Linked DNA regions of Homo sapiens: region 1 is linked to region 2. The links are contacts of gene promoters, found by promoter capture Hi-C in human tissues and cell types (Jung and others, 2019). All regions are on one chromosome and are shown on one strand. The core of a region is centred on a gene start or on the middle of the fragment in contact, and the rest is flanking DNA. Distances in the headings are between cores, read along the strand shown. Region 1 holds the start of LINC01342 (long intergenic non-protein coding RNA 1342). Region 2 holds the start of CCNL2 (cyclin L2).

Region 1 (5,735 bases), core at 407-2,906, 260 kb after region 2:
CAGAGGACCCCGGGCCCCGCCCCAGGACCCAGCCAAGGGCTGGGCTGGGAGGGAGAGGGGGAGGGAGGCGGGGAGGGTACACGCCCAGTCGCAAGCCCTCCAGGCTTTAAAGCTGTCCAATGGCAGCAGGCTGCTGTGAATGGGGTCCGACACAAATTTGTAAACCTTCTTAAAACATAAAACATAATGGGATTTTTTTGGCAATTTTTTTTTCGCTCATCAGCTATCGTTAGTGTATTTTATGTGTGGCCCAAGACAATTCTTCCAATGTGGCCCAGGGAAGCCAAAAGATCGGCCACCCCTGCTTTAAAGCACCTGCCCTGTTCCCGGAAACCCCCAGCCGGGACTGACGGGTGACTTCAGTCCAGAGGGTGCACAGCCTGCGGGTTCCGGGGAGGGGCCGCGTGGGGGGTTCTCGACCGCAGCCCTCCCACCCCAGGGCCACAGAGAGCCTGCGGGGGGCGGGGCTGAGTGTCCCGGGCCCCCAAAACCCGGCCCAGCGGGGGCAGGGTCCCCGCATCCTCGCATCCTCGGGGTCCGGCCCCTCGTCGCGTGTCCCGGGCTCTGGGCCCCGCCCGCCCCCCTGGCGCCCCCACCCCACGCCGGCCTCGACCCCCGCCACGGTTCCTCCGGTCTTTCCCTGAGTGTGCGCAGGAGGACGGGAGCTCCCAACGCACCGCAGAGGGGGCAGGGGGACCCCCAGGACCCGCCCTCCCGGCACCGCCTTTGTCCCCGCGCACCTGGCGGGGCTCGGGTTTCCCGGGCGGCGCTCGCTCCGGCCGCGCCCTCCCCGCCCTGGGCTCCCCCAGCTCTCGGTGGGCGCCGCGTCGTTAGCTGGAAACCAAAGAAGGGGCGCGACCGAGCCAGGCAGGTGGCCCAGAGGCCCAGGTGCAGCCCCTGCCCCGCCCAGGGCCCGACCATCCCAGCCCAGCCAGCGGGGGTGTGGGGTCCCCACCATCCCACAAAGGCACGTGGGGCCAGGTCCTCAAACTGACCACCCGGCCGCCCCTCCTGCTGCCTCCCCCCAGGCCCCGCCAGTGCCAGGGAAAGGGTTAAGTCCACCTGGCGACCGCACCTTTGTTTGCCCGAGAGCTGCACCTGCGCCCCAATTAACGTGGGCAAATGAAGTGAGACCGGGTCCAACAGGAAAGGAACCGCCCTCCTGTGTGCCAGGCGGCCCGCAGGGACCCAGGGCAGGGCCGGCTCGACACGCCCTGCAGCTCCCACCTGACCCCCTCCTGCCTCCCATCAGAGAAGCTGAAGCTCCCTGTGCTGGATCCTACTTTCTCAGAAGGTTTTAGGCTGGCCACTCAGCACCCCACACAAACACAGCATCTGGCCTAGCTCCTCTGCCCTGCCCAGCACCCACAGGGCCTCCACCTCCACGCCCACCGTCCCCAGTCCCCACCCTCACCCCCATCACCGTGTTTCTCAAAGCCCTGTCCCTTCCCCTTCCCTCGACCACACCATAGGCCAAGGGTTGCAGTAGCCCCCAGCCCAGCCCCCAGGCACCCAGAGGGCTGTGAACAGTGGGCCCCAGGCACACAGGGGGCTGTGAACAGCAGCAGGCTCCTTTTGGCCTTGGCCCTCTCAGCATGCAGCCCCCTGTCTCTTCAGTGGAGTGAGAGGGGCCGGCCTCTTAGCCAGGACTGGTTTGTGCCACCAGGGACCACACCAATTCCAGACCTGGGTTTTGGCCCCTGGACAGAGTACAAAATGCAAAAGCAGAATTTCCAGAAGCCGGACCCTGTGAGCTGCAGAAGCCGGGCCCTGTGAGCTGCAGACAGAATGAGGCGTGTCGGGATGGGAGACACCCGTGCTTCCAGCATTGCAAGGAGAATGTGGAACGCTCCGGAACCCCTCACCCTCAGCCTTGCCCACGGGAGCTGGGGCAGTGGCCCCTGCCCACCTGCACTCACCAGCTGTCCTGGCAGCGTGAGACCAGCCTGGTTGAGGTCTTTATGTCAGAGACCTTTGAACCAGAGCAACTCCATCTTGCACAGGGCCTGGGTAAAATGAGGCTGAGCCCGGCTGGGCCACGTTCCCATGAGGTCAGGCATCCTTAGTTACAGGATGAGATAGGAGGTTGGCACAAGACTGGTCACAAAGACCCCGCTGATAAAACAAGATGCTGTGAAGAAGCCGGCCCCAAATCACCAAAACCAAGACAGCCAGTCCTCACTGCTCATTATGCGCTGATTATAATACATTAGCATGAGAGACACGCCCACCAGCACCAGGACAGTTTAGTTGCCACGGCAACGCCAGGACGTTACCCTAGATGGTCTAAAAGAGGGAGGAACCCTCACTTCTGGGAATTGCCTGCCCCTTTCCCAGAAAAGTCCGGAATAATCCACACCATGTTTAGTACATATCAAGAAACAACAATAAGTATTCTCAGTGGAGTAGCCCAGGCCGCTGCTCAGCCTATGGGGCAGCCCTTCTCTTATTCCTTTACTTTCCTATTAAACTTGCTTTCAGTTTATCAGTGGACTCCCCCAAACTGTTTCTTGCTCGAGGTCCAAGAGCCCTCTTTGGGATCCCTTTCCGGTGACATTTACGCCCAGGGAATTTGTGCCCAAATGCACAGATCAGGCCCCTACCCTGAGGGCCCCCACTGCCTGCGACCATCCCATTCCAGACTCTCCCAGGCCCCTCCCTGGGGAGGGAGGTGGCAAGACCCTGTATCCAGGCCCCCGTGGTGGAGTGGGGTCTCCCGAAGGCCCAAAGGATACGGGAGGAGCCCCCGGGTGGTCAGAGCATCGGGGCGGGGAGGGGACGGTGACCCCGGGGGATGGACAATGGCTGCAGCCAAGATATCTGCCTGGGGGAGGTGGGATCACGGGTGGGGTCTCCAGGAGTGGAGGCCTCGGTGGCTACACGGAGATTCAAGCCCTTTGACGCCGCAGGCAAAGTCAGCCAGGACCCCATGGGTCCGTGACTCAGGAAGGCCCCTGGGAAGCCAGCCATCGCTGCCCAGCCCCCAGGGAGCCTGGCGAGTAAGCCACCCCCTCACGGTGTCCCCCTCCTGAGAGGGGCTGCAGCCTCAGATGGCGAGGAAGCCACACCCCTCACGGTGCCCCCTCCTGAGAGGGGCTGCAGACTCAGATGTCAGATGCTGCTGCGGGATGTACCCATCGGGGAGCCTCCCCACGGGGCCACCTGCTACTGTGGGGCTCTGCGCCTGCACGGACCCCCACCGGCCTCCAAATGTGCAAACACAGGCGCCTCTCAGGCACTCTGGGCCCCTGTTCGGCGGAACGCTGAAAAGGGCTGGTGCCCATCCCACTGAGGGTCCTGCGGGCACCTCAGCAGGACAGCGGACCCCGAGGAGCTGGTGGAGACACCCAGGGCCCTGCGAGGCCTCAGCCTCCCCGTGTCGCGGGGCCGTGTGCAGGGTCTGGGTGTAGGGACAGCCACACTATGCCAGGCCTGCAGGAGACCCCTCCCCCCTGAGGCAGCCCCCTGGTCCCTCGGGGAACTGGATGTTACTGGTGCTCCCAGGACAGCACAGAACTGTTTAGGGAGGGAAGCACTGGTGACCTGTTCTGGTTTTTGAGAGTGGAGTCGGGGTGGCGAGGTGAGGGGGTGAACGGTTTGACAGTGGAGTTGGGGTGGCGGGGTGAGGAGGTGAATGGTTTGGGACAGGGCAGAAAGCAGACGCGGGCATGTGGGGAGGGGGGCGTGAGGGATTTCGCCATGCGGGGATGTTTTGACAGCACTGGTTACCTGAGGCCTGTATTTCTTTCTTTTTTTTTTTTTTTTTTGAGACGGAGTCTCGCTCTGTCGCCCAGGCTGGAGTGCAGTGGCCCCATCTCGGCTCACTGCAAGCTCCGCCTCCCGAGTTCACGCCATTCTCCTGCCTCAGCCTCCCGAGTAGCTGGGACTACAGGCGCCCGCCACCACGCCCAGCTAATGTTTTGTATTTTTAGTAGAGACGGGGTTTCACCGTGTTAGCCAGGATGGTCTCGATCTCCTGACCTCGTGATCTGCCCGCCTCGGCCTCCCAAAGTGCTGGGATAACAGGCGTGAGCCGCTGTGCCCGGCCTTACCTGAGGCCTGTATTTCTTAGGAGAGAGAGAAAACCACTAAGTTTTCTTGGACACAGGAGGGGACCTCAGCAAGGAAGCATGAGCAGCCGCCCTTTTCCAGGAAAAGAAAACAAAATCTACGTCCTGGGAAGCTTTCCCTCCCCACGTCAACCACCTCCCCAGCCAGACCTGTGGAAGGGAGGCTGGGAGGCCTCAGAGTAGGGCCAGTGCCTGCGTAGGGTCAGTCAGCGGGGAGGAAGTGGAACATTAAACCCCAGGCGGAGTCGTCCTGGCCGCCGGCCCAGCCTCTGCCTGACGCTGGGGTCAGAGCCCAGCATCTGCTGAGGAGGCCGGGCAGGCAGGCGGCGGGCAGGGCGCAGGGCGAGGGGTGCAGCCACCGGGAGCCCCCCACACCGGACCCCGAGCATTGAGACTGCAGTGCCCACCCAGCCGGAGCGTCATCCTTGGCAGGACCCCACCAGGAGGGATGTACCAGGGATGCTGGACACCCAGGCCCCGCCACCCCAAAACAACGTCTCCACGTAAACCCAAGCGACCTTCCCTGGGGTGGGTGTGACCTGCCCTCCCCACCACTCTCAGGGCAGTTTTCTCCACCTGTAGCTCCCCCGGGCTCCCCAGGGTTCCTGGTCCTTCTCCTCTGTGTTTCCTGCTTGCTCCTAAAACTCAGCTTTCAGGCGGAACACACAGCCCGGAACCACCCTGCTCTCAGGCGGAACCCGCGAGCACACGCAGCAGAGCTCTGCTCTTCCTGGGGTTTTAAGGATGAGACATTGCAAGGTCCCCCGGGCTACACAGTGACCCCTCTGGCAGGTTGTGCCCCCAGAGTTCATGGTTAGAATCCAAACTCTCAGTACCAACAACGCGAGCGTGTGTGGAGAAGGGGCTACGAGACAGGTGAGTATGTGGGAAGCAGCCGTGAGGATGAGCCCTGGCCGGGTCCCACTGGTGTCCTAGTTGCAGGAGGAGGTTAGGGCAGAGGGACACGGGACGGACCTGCGCAGAGGCCGCCTGAGAGAAGGCAGCAGCGGGAGAGGCCTCCGCAGAACCAGCCCGGCAACCCTGGGACACCGGACCTTCCCCTCCCCCTCCGAGGCTGTGAGAAAATACATTTCTGTTGCTTAAGTCCCCAGGCTCGGTATTTTGTTCCAGCAGCTGGAGCTAGGACAACCCCAGACGCACCCGGCCAGCCCTGAGGGAGGGCGTTCACCGGCTTCCCATACGCATTGTAGGAGGCCGCATGGGCACCCTCCTCAGCCCTGGGCACCCTTGTCGTACCTGACAACCCTGTGTAGATTCCCTGCAAGCATCCAGGGTCCAAGGCGGCCGCAGGCTCCTCAGACAAAGGGCTTCCTCCACACATGGGCTCAGGGCTACGGGCTCCCTGACATCGACCTCCCCGGCAGCCGCCCTGGTGTTTCTCCCATTTGCCAGCGGACACATCCCAGGTGACACCCCACCTCGGAAGAGGCCCTCCTGGCAGGTGCCTGGCCCCAATGCCCAACGCAGGGCTCGCGGCGGCGATGGCGGCGGGTCTCAGGCAGGAGTGGGATCTCTCTGCTGTCCGGTCCTGCCCCTTGCCCCTGAGAGGCCCCACAACCCCACCCCCAGCACACCCTGCATGGGCACCCCCGTCTCAGGCTCTGCCTCCCGTGCCCTGACCCTGGGCGCAGAGGGCCACGTGCC
Region 2 (5,743 bases), core at 297-2,796:
AAGACAGGGATGTGGCAGAGCCCTGCGGGTTGCTCCCATCACTCACTCGGTTTGTGCCATAGTCCTCCTGTTCCCAGGCGGTCCCAGGGCCTGCCCCTGATGGGCTGGAGGCACCACCAACCTCCCACTCCTCTGGCAGTCACAGCTCAGGGAATGGGCAAGCAGCACCAATGAGAAACCAGCTGTGTGGTGGGGTTTCCAGAGAAGAGGAAATTCCTTCTTTCCTGGAGAGCGTGCAGCTGTAACTCACAGACGAGACATCCCTGAGCTACCAGCCTGGGGAAAGAGGACATGAGTAAAGCTGTAACCATACCGTGTTACCCATAACAGGCGGTGAGGAGAGTGGGTTTTGGTTGGCACTGTTTGAGCTGCAGTATCAAGTCATGGCAGAGCTAGTGGACAGCTGACCTGGGGGTGGGGGTGAGGAGCAATGGTGGCTTCTGAATTTGAGCCCGTCTGAGCTGGGCAGTTACTGGCAGCTCAGTGTGTGAACCTGCAACCACTCAGGCCTCTGCTGCCCTTCCCTCTTCCTGCCTCACCGTTCCCTGCCCCACGCAGGCTTCCCCACCATCCTCACCCGTGGTCCTGTACTAGTCCTGGCAAAGGTTCCGGTAACTGCAGCAACAGATACCTCCTGCCCCTCCTGCACAGCTGTGGTCGATCGCAGGACAGCCGCAGGTGATGAAAAACCGTGAACCCAGGACGGGCAGGGCGTGAGACCGCCTGCGGGAGGATCAGCGATGTCAAGACGTTACAAACGCACGAACCCCCTCGCCGTCTCCCTGGCGTTTGTGAGGTCCTGTCCAAGCTCCTTCACACGTAGATCACCGGGCCTCGCTCCCCCGACTCCTTCCGTGGGCCTGAACCTTGAGGTACTTAGGCCTCCCCACGCTGGAGGGGCTCTGTAGGGACGTCGAGGCCACGTTTCCAGTCATCCCTCCACCCGTCTCTCCCCAGGGGCTGAGTGTTGAAGGCAAGACTTTGCAGGAGTCTGGCGTTAATACGCATCCCCAAAGTCTGGAGTCGATAAGGACTGAAGACACGACGCCGACGGCGGCCGGGGGACACCGGGCATGCGCGTCTCATCCAGGGGGAGGCCGAGCGGAGCCTCTGACCCTGCCCCGCGCCCAGGGTTCAGCAGTGGGGGTCGTCCCGCCCCAGATCCCACCGAGATGGCCCCCCTTGACCCACAGGCCTTTCGAGACGCGAGCTTCCGCGATCCGGGGTCTCTGTGCGAACGTGGGCATCTTGGAAGAGTCCCAGCCCCGCTCGGGGCGCACAGGCAGGCGCTCTCAGCACGGCACCCGCGCCTCCGCTAGGGACAGACATGCTTCCGGGTCGGCCGGCACCGCGGAGTCCCCTGGGTAACGAGCCCGCCCCACCCGCGCCAGGTTCCGGCGTCGGCGTTAGGCGCGTTGCTGACGGGCAGGTTATGTAGCCAATTGCGGCTAGGCGGCGTCGCGCTGGTCGCGGGCCGAACCAATGGCACGCGACGGGGCGGGGCGGTGGCGGCCGTGGAGCTTCGCGAGGAGCCGCCCTGAGGGAAGAAGCCGAAGGGGAGTCGGCGGCACAAAATGGCGGCGGCGGCGGCGGCGGCTGGTGCTGCAGGGTCGGCAGCTCCCGCGGCAGCGGCCGGCGCCCCGGGATCTGGGGGCGCACCCTCAGGGTCGCAGGGGGTGCTGATCGGGGACAGGCTGTACTCCGGGGTGCTCATCACCTTGGAGAACTGCCTCCTGCCTGACGACAAGCTCCGTTTCACGCCGTCCATGTCGAGCGGCCTCGACACCGACACAGAGACCGACCTCCGCGTGGTGGGCTGCGAGCTCATCCAGGCGGCCGGTATCCTGCTCCGCCTGCCGCAGGTGAGGGCGCGGCCGCGAGCCTCCGGCCCAGGTAACCGCTGGGGCGGCAGCCGCCTTTGTTGGCGGCGAGTCGGGCCCGCACCGCCCCCGCCTAGACCCCGACCCCAGCCCCTGCCCCGACCCCAGCCTCGGCGCCATTCCCTAGCCAGCCCATGCCCCTGACCCGGGGCCTCCCCGCCCGCCAGTGCGCTGGATCCCGAGACGGCGGGACGCGAAGAGCCTTTGTGGACGTGGGAAGCGTTTCAGTGTTTGGTTCTGCGTGGGGAGTCCCACGTTACTCGATGACTTTCGGCCGCGAAGGCTTTGAATGGTGCGTTTGAAAATACGGAAACTTTCTTCTACTCTAGGTGGCCATGGCTACCGGGCAGGTGTTGTTCCAGCGGTTCTTTTATACCAAGTCCTTCGTGAAGCACTCCATGGAGGTAAGGCTTCCTCCTGCACTTCATTCCCAGCGAAGTATGTTGAGGGTAAAACGGTTTGTTACTTTGCCCGGTTACTAAGGGAGTGAGTACTTGCCCCCCAGTCTGAGCTCTGTGCCGGAGGGTTCTGTTTCTTGACTTTTTTTTTCCCCTGGGTGCACCTCCCTTTTGGTCTGAATAGCCCTCAAGCCTTTGGCGGCCGTCAGGACGCCGTGGCTGGGGACAAACATGGGCGTGTTGCAATGCTTCCGCTTCAGCATGTGTCAATGGCCTGTGTCCACCTGGCTTCCAAGATAGAAGAGGCCCCAAGACGCATACGGGACGTCATCAATGTGTTTCACCGCCTTCGACAGCTGAGAGACAAAAAGTGAGTCAGTCAGAGCTGTCTAGTCTATCATAGATGCCTATTTTCTTTATTTCTGATTAAGTTACAGTAAGGCTTGTATAACACAATACAGGCCTGAGGCTCTAAACCTGTGGGATATTCATGAGCGCAGTCTCAAGCTCCACCAACAGAGCCTGCTCAGAGGCATCAGTAGATGCGGTTTAGTAAGGGCAGGGGCTCCAGTGAGGACAGTGCGCTGTGGCGGGTCGCGCTGGGGCTGGCTTCCTGCTTTACCCATGTCAGTGCACGGCCCTGCTGCTGCTTCTGTCCCACAAGTTTCTGAGTGCTCTGGAGCAGGGAATCTTAATCTCAGCACTATTGACATTCAGGCTGGATAATCTTTTTTTTCCTCCTGAGACAGGTTTCCTGTTGTCCAGGGCAGAGTGCGGTGGTATGATCATGGCTCACTACAGCCTCAACCTCCTAGGCTCAAGAGTTTCTCCTGCCTCAGCCTCCTGAGTAGCTGGGACTATAGGAGCACGCCAACCATGCCAGCTAATTTTTATTTTTTATTTGGTAAAGATGGGGTCATGCTGTGTTGCCCAGGCTGGTCTCAAATTCCTGGGCTCCAAGGATTTGCTGGCCTTAGCCTCCCAAAGCACTGGGATTACAGATTTCAGCCACCGCATCTGGCTGGGTAATCTTTAGTTGTAGGGGATTCTCCTGTGTGCTGCAGGATTCAGCAACATCCCTGGTCTCGACTCACTGGATGACAGGAGTACCCCACCTTAGATGTGACAGCCAGAAATTCTCTCATACCAGATGTGGGAGCTCACACCTGTCATCTCAGCACTTGGGAGACTGAAAAAGGAGGTTTGCTTGAGGCCAGGAGATTGAGGCTGCAGTGAGCTGTGATGTCACCACTGCACTCCAGCCTGGACAACAGGGTGAGGCCCTGTTTCCAAAAAAAACGAAAGTCTGTTGATGTTGCTTCATGGCCCTGGAATAGTAAAATTTCTCCAGCAGAGAACCGCTGCCTCTGACCTTAGCCCAGGGTTTATGCACCTGAAGTTAATTGAAGTCCTTTAGAAAACACAGCCTCTGGCCGGGCTGGCCTGTAATCCCAGCACGTTGGGAGGCCTAGGCAGGTGGATCACCTAAGGTCAGGAGTTCGAGACCAGCCTAACCAATATGGTGAAACCCTGTCCCTATTAAGAACACAAAAATTGGCCAGGTGCAGTGGCTCACGCCTGTAATCCCAGCACTTTGGGAGGCCGAGGCGGGTGGATCACGAGGTCAGGAGATCGAGACCATCCTGGCTAACACGGTGAAACCCCGTCTACTAAAAATACAAAAAAGTTAGCCAGGCGTGGTGGCGGGTGCCTGTGGTCCCAGCTACTTGGGAGGCTGAGGCAGGAGAATGGCGTGAACCCGGGAGGTGGAGCTTGCAGTGAGCTGAGATCGGGCCACTGCACTCCAGCCTGGGCGACAGAGCAAGACTCCGTCTCAAAAAAAAATAAAAAAAAAATTAGCCGGGTGTGGTTGCGGGTGCCTGTAATCCCAGCTATTCGGGAGGGTGAGGCAGGAGAATCGCTGGAACCGGGGAGTTAGAGGTGCAGTGAGCTGAGATTGTGCCATTGCACTCCAGCCTGGGCAACAAAAGTGAAACTCTGTCTCAAAAAAAAAAAAAAAAAAAAAAAAAACAGCCTTGCCGAGCGCAGTGGCTCACGCCTATAGTCCCAGCACTTTGGGAGGCCAAGGCGGGTGGATCATCTGAGGTCGGGAGTTCGAGACCAGCCTGACCAACATGTAGAAACCCCATCTCTACTACAAATATAAAATTAGCTGGTCGTGGTGGTGCATGCCTGTAATACCAGCTACTTGGGAGGCTGAGGCAGGAGAATTGCTTGAACCTGGGAGGTGGAGGTTATAGTGAGCCAAGAGCGCGCCACTGCACTCCAGCCTGGGCAACAGAGTGAGACTCCATCTCAAAAAAAGAAAAAACATGGCCTCATCGGCCTCCCAAAGTGCTGGGGTTACAGGTGTGAGCCACTGCACCCAGCCCTTTTTTTTTTTTTTTTTTTCTGAGACGGACTCTCACTGTGTCTCACCGTGTCACCCAGGCTGGAGTGCAGTGATGCGATCTCGGCTCACTGAAACCTCCGCCTCCTGGGTTCAAGTGAATCTCCTGCCTCAGCCTCCTGAGTAGCTGGGATTACAAGCACCCGCCACCACGCCCGGCTAATTTTTGCATTTTTTTAGTAGAGACAGGGTTTCACCATGTTGGTCAGACTGGTCTTGAACTCCTGAGCTCAGGCAGTCTGCCTGCCTCGCCTCCCAAAGTGCTGGGATTACAGGCAGAGCCACTGCACCTGGCCCATCTGTATTTAAATAATTGTGCTTTCATTGGTTCTGTGGTTATTGAACTGTGAATATGTACCTTCCTATCGTGAGTCACATAAAGTGCTTTAGCATTTGTGCCACGAGATCCTAAAACTTGCTATGTTCGGTCTATGCTTGTGCACCAGAAGCTGTTGATCTATAAGGAAAAGCAGGGAGGGATCGTTGGGAAGGGATGAGGAGGTTGGCACTGGGCTGTGGGGAGCGGTGTGCAGTTTTGTTCATCAGAGGATGTGGACTTCATAGCGATGTTGTGTTGTGGGGTTTGTGTTAGGTGCTCATAGTTGGAGGTAACGACGGGATCTCAGAAGCCTTGCTCTGCTTGACTGTGGTGCAGACCCTGTGCTCTCTCTCTGGCAGGAAGCCCGTGCCTCTACTACTGGATCAAGATTATGTTAATTTAAAGAACCAAATTATAAAGGCGGAAAGACGAGTTCTCAAAGAGTTGGGTTTCTGCGTCCATGTGAAGCATCCTCATAAGGTGGGTGTGCGGCTCCTGCCCTGCGAGCCCGCCTAGGCCGCTGCTCCTGCCTGGCCGCCTCTCTCCACCTCAGTGCAGTTGAAGGCTCTGAAGAGGACTGAGTGCATCCCTGACTTGGCTTTCCAGTTTCTATTTATAATCTCAAGAATAGTTCCTGACGTATTCGTCTTCTAGTGTCAGCTGTTTATTTTAGTAACACATTTTTAAGTGTTTTGGAAATGGTATTATTTAAGTTTGGGCTTTCAAAAATAGTGGT

What was found. Contacts are between HindIII fragments. The study calls those that stand out against the background at their distance.
Region 1: a fragment that was not itself captured here is called in contact with the fragment with the promoter of CCNL2 in region 2 in 1 of the 25 tissues and cell types used here (lymphoblastoid cells).

The regions. Positions count from the first base shown.
Region 1 is chr1:1,132,116-1,137,850 of GRCh38, reverse strand. LINC01342 (long intergenic non-protein coding RNA 1342) reads right to left here and starts at 834. Exons shown (of 3, transcript NR_038869.1): 1 at 741-834. The region is part of intron 1 of LOC124903820 (a long non-coding RNA gene); the gene reads right to left. RefSeq lists silencers at 36-135, 206-285, 346-535, 636-885, 906-965 and a cis regulatory region at 1,917-3,001. The HindIII fragment of the contact is 9,857 bases long and covers 1-5,735 here.
Region 2 is chr1:1,395,138-1,400,880 of GRCh38, reverse strand. It overlaps CCNL2 (cyclin L2), which reads left to right and starts at 1,546. Exons shown (of 11, transcript NM_030937.6): 1 at 1,546-1,862; 2 at 2,210-2,284; 3 at 2,539-2,648; 4 at 5,367-5,487. The coding sequence starts at 1,575. It overlaps MRPL20-AS1 (MRPL20 antisense RNA 1), which reads right to left and starts at 1,351. Exons shown (of 3, transcript NR_015434.1): 1 at 1,192-1,351; 2 at 578-723; 3 at 1-276. RefSeq lists an enhancer at 65-608 and silencers at 994-1,053, 1,344-1,583, 1,654-1,833. The HindIII fragment of the contact is 25,727 bases long and covers 1-4,379 here.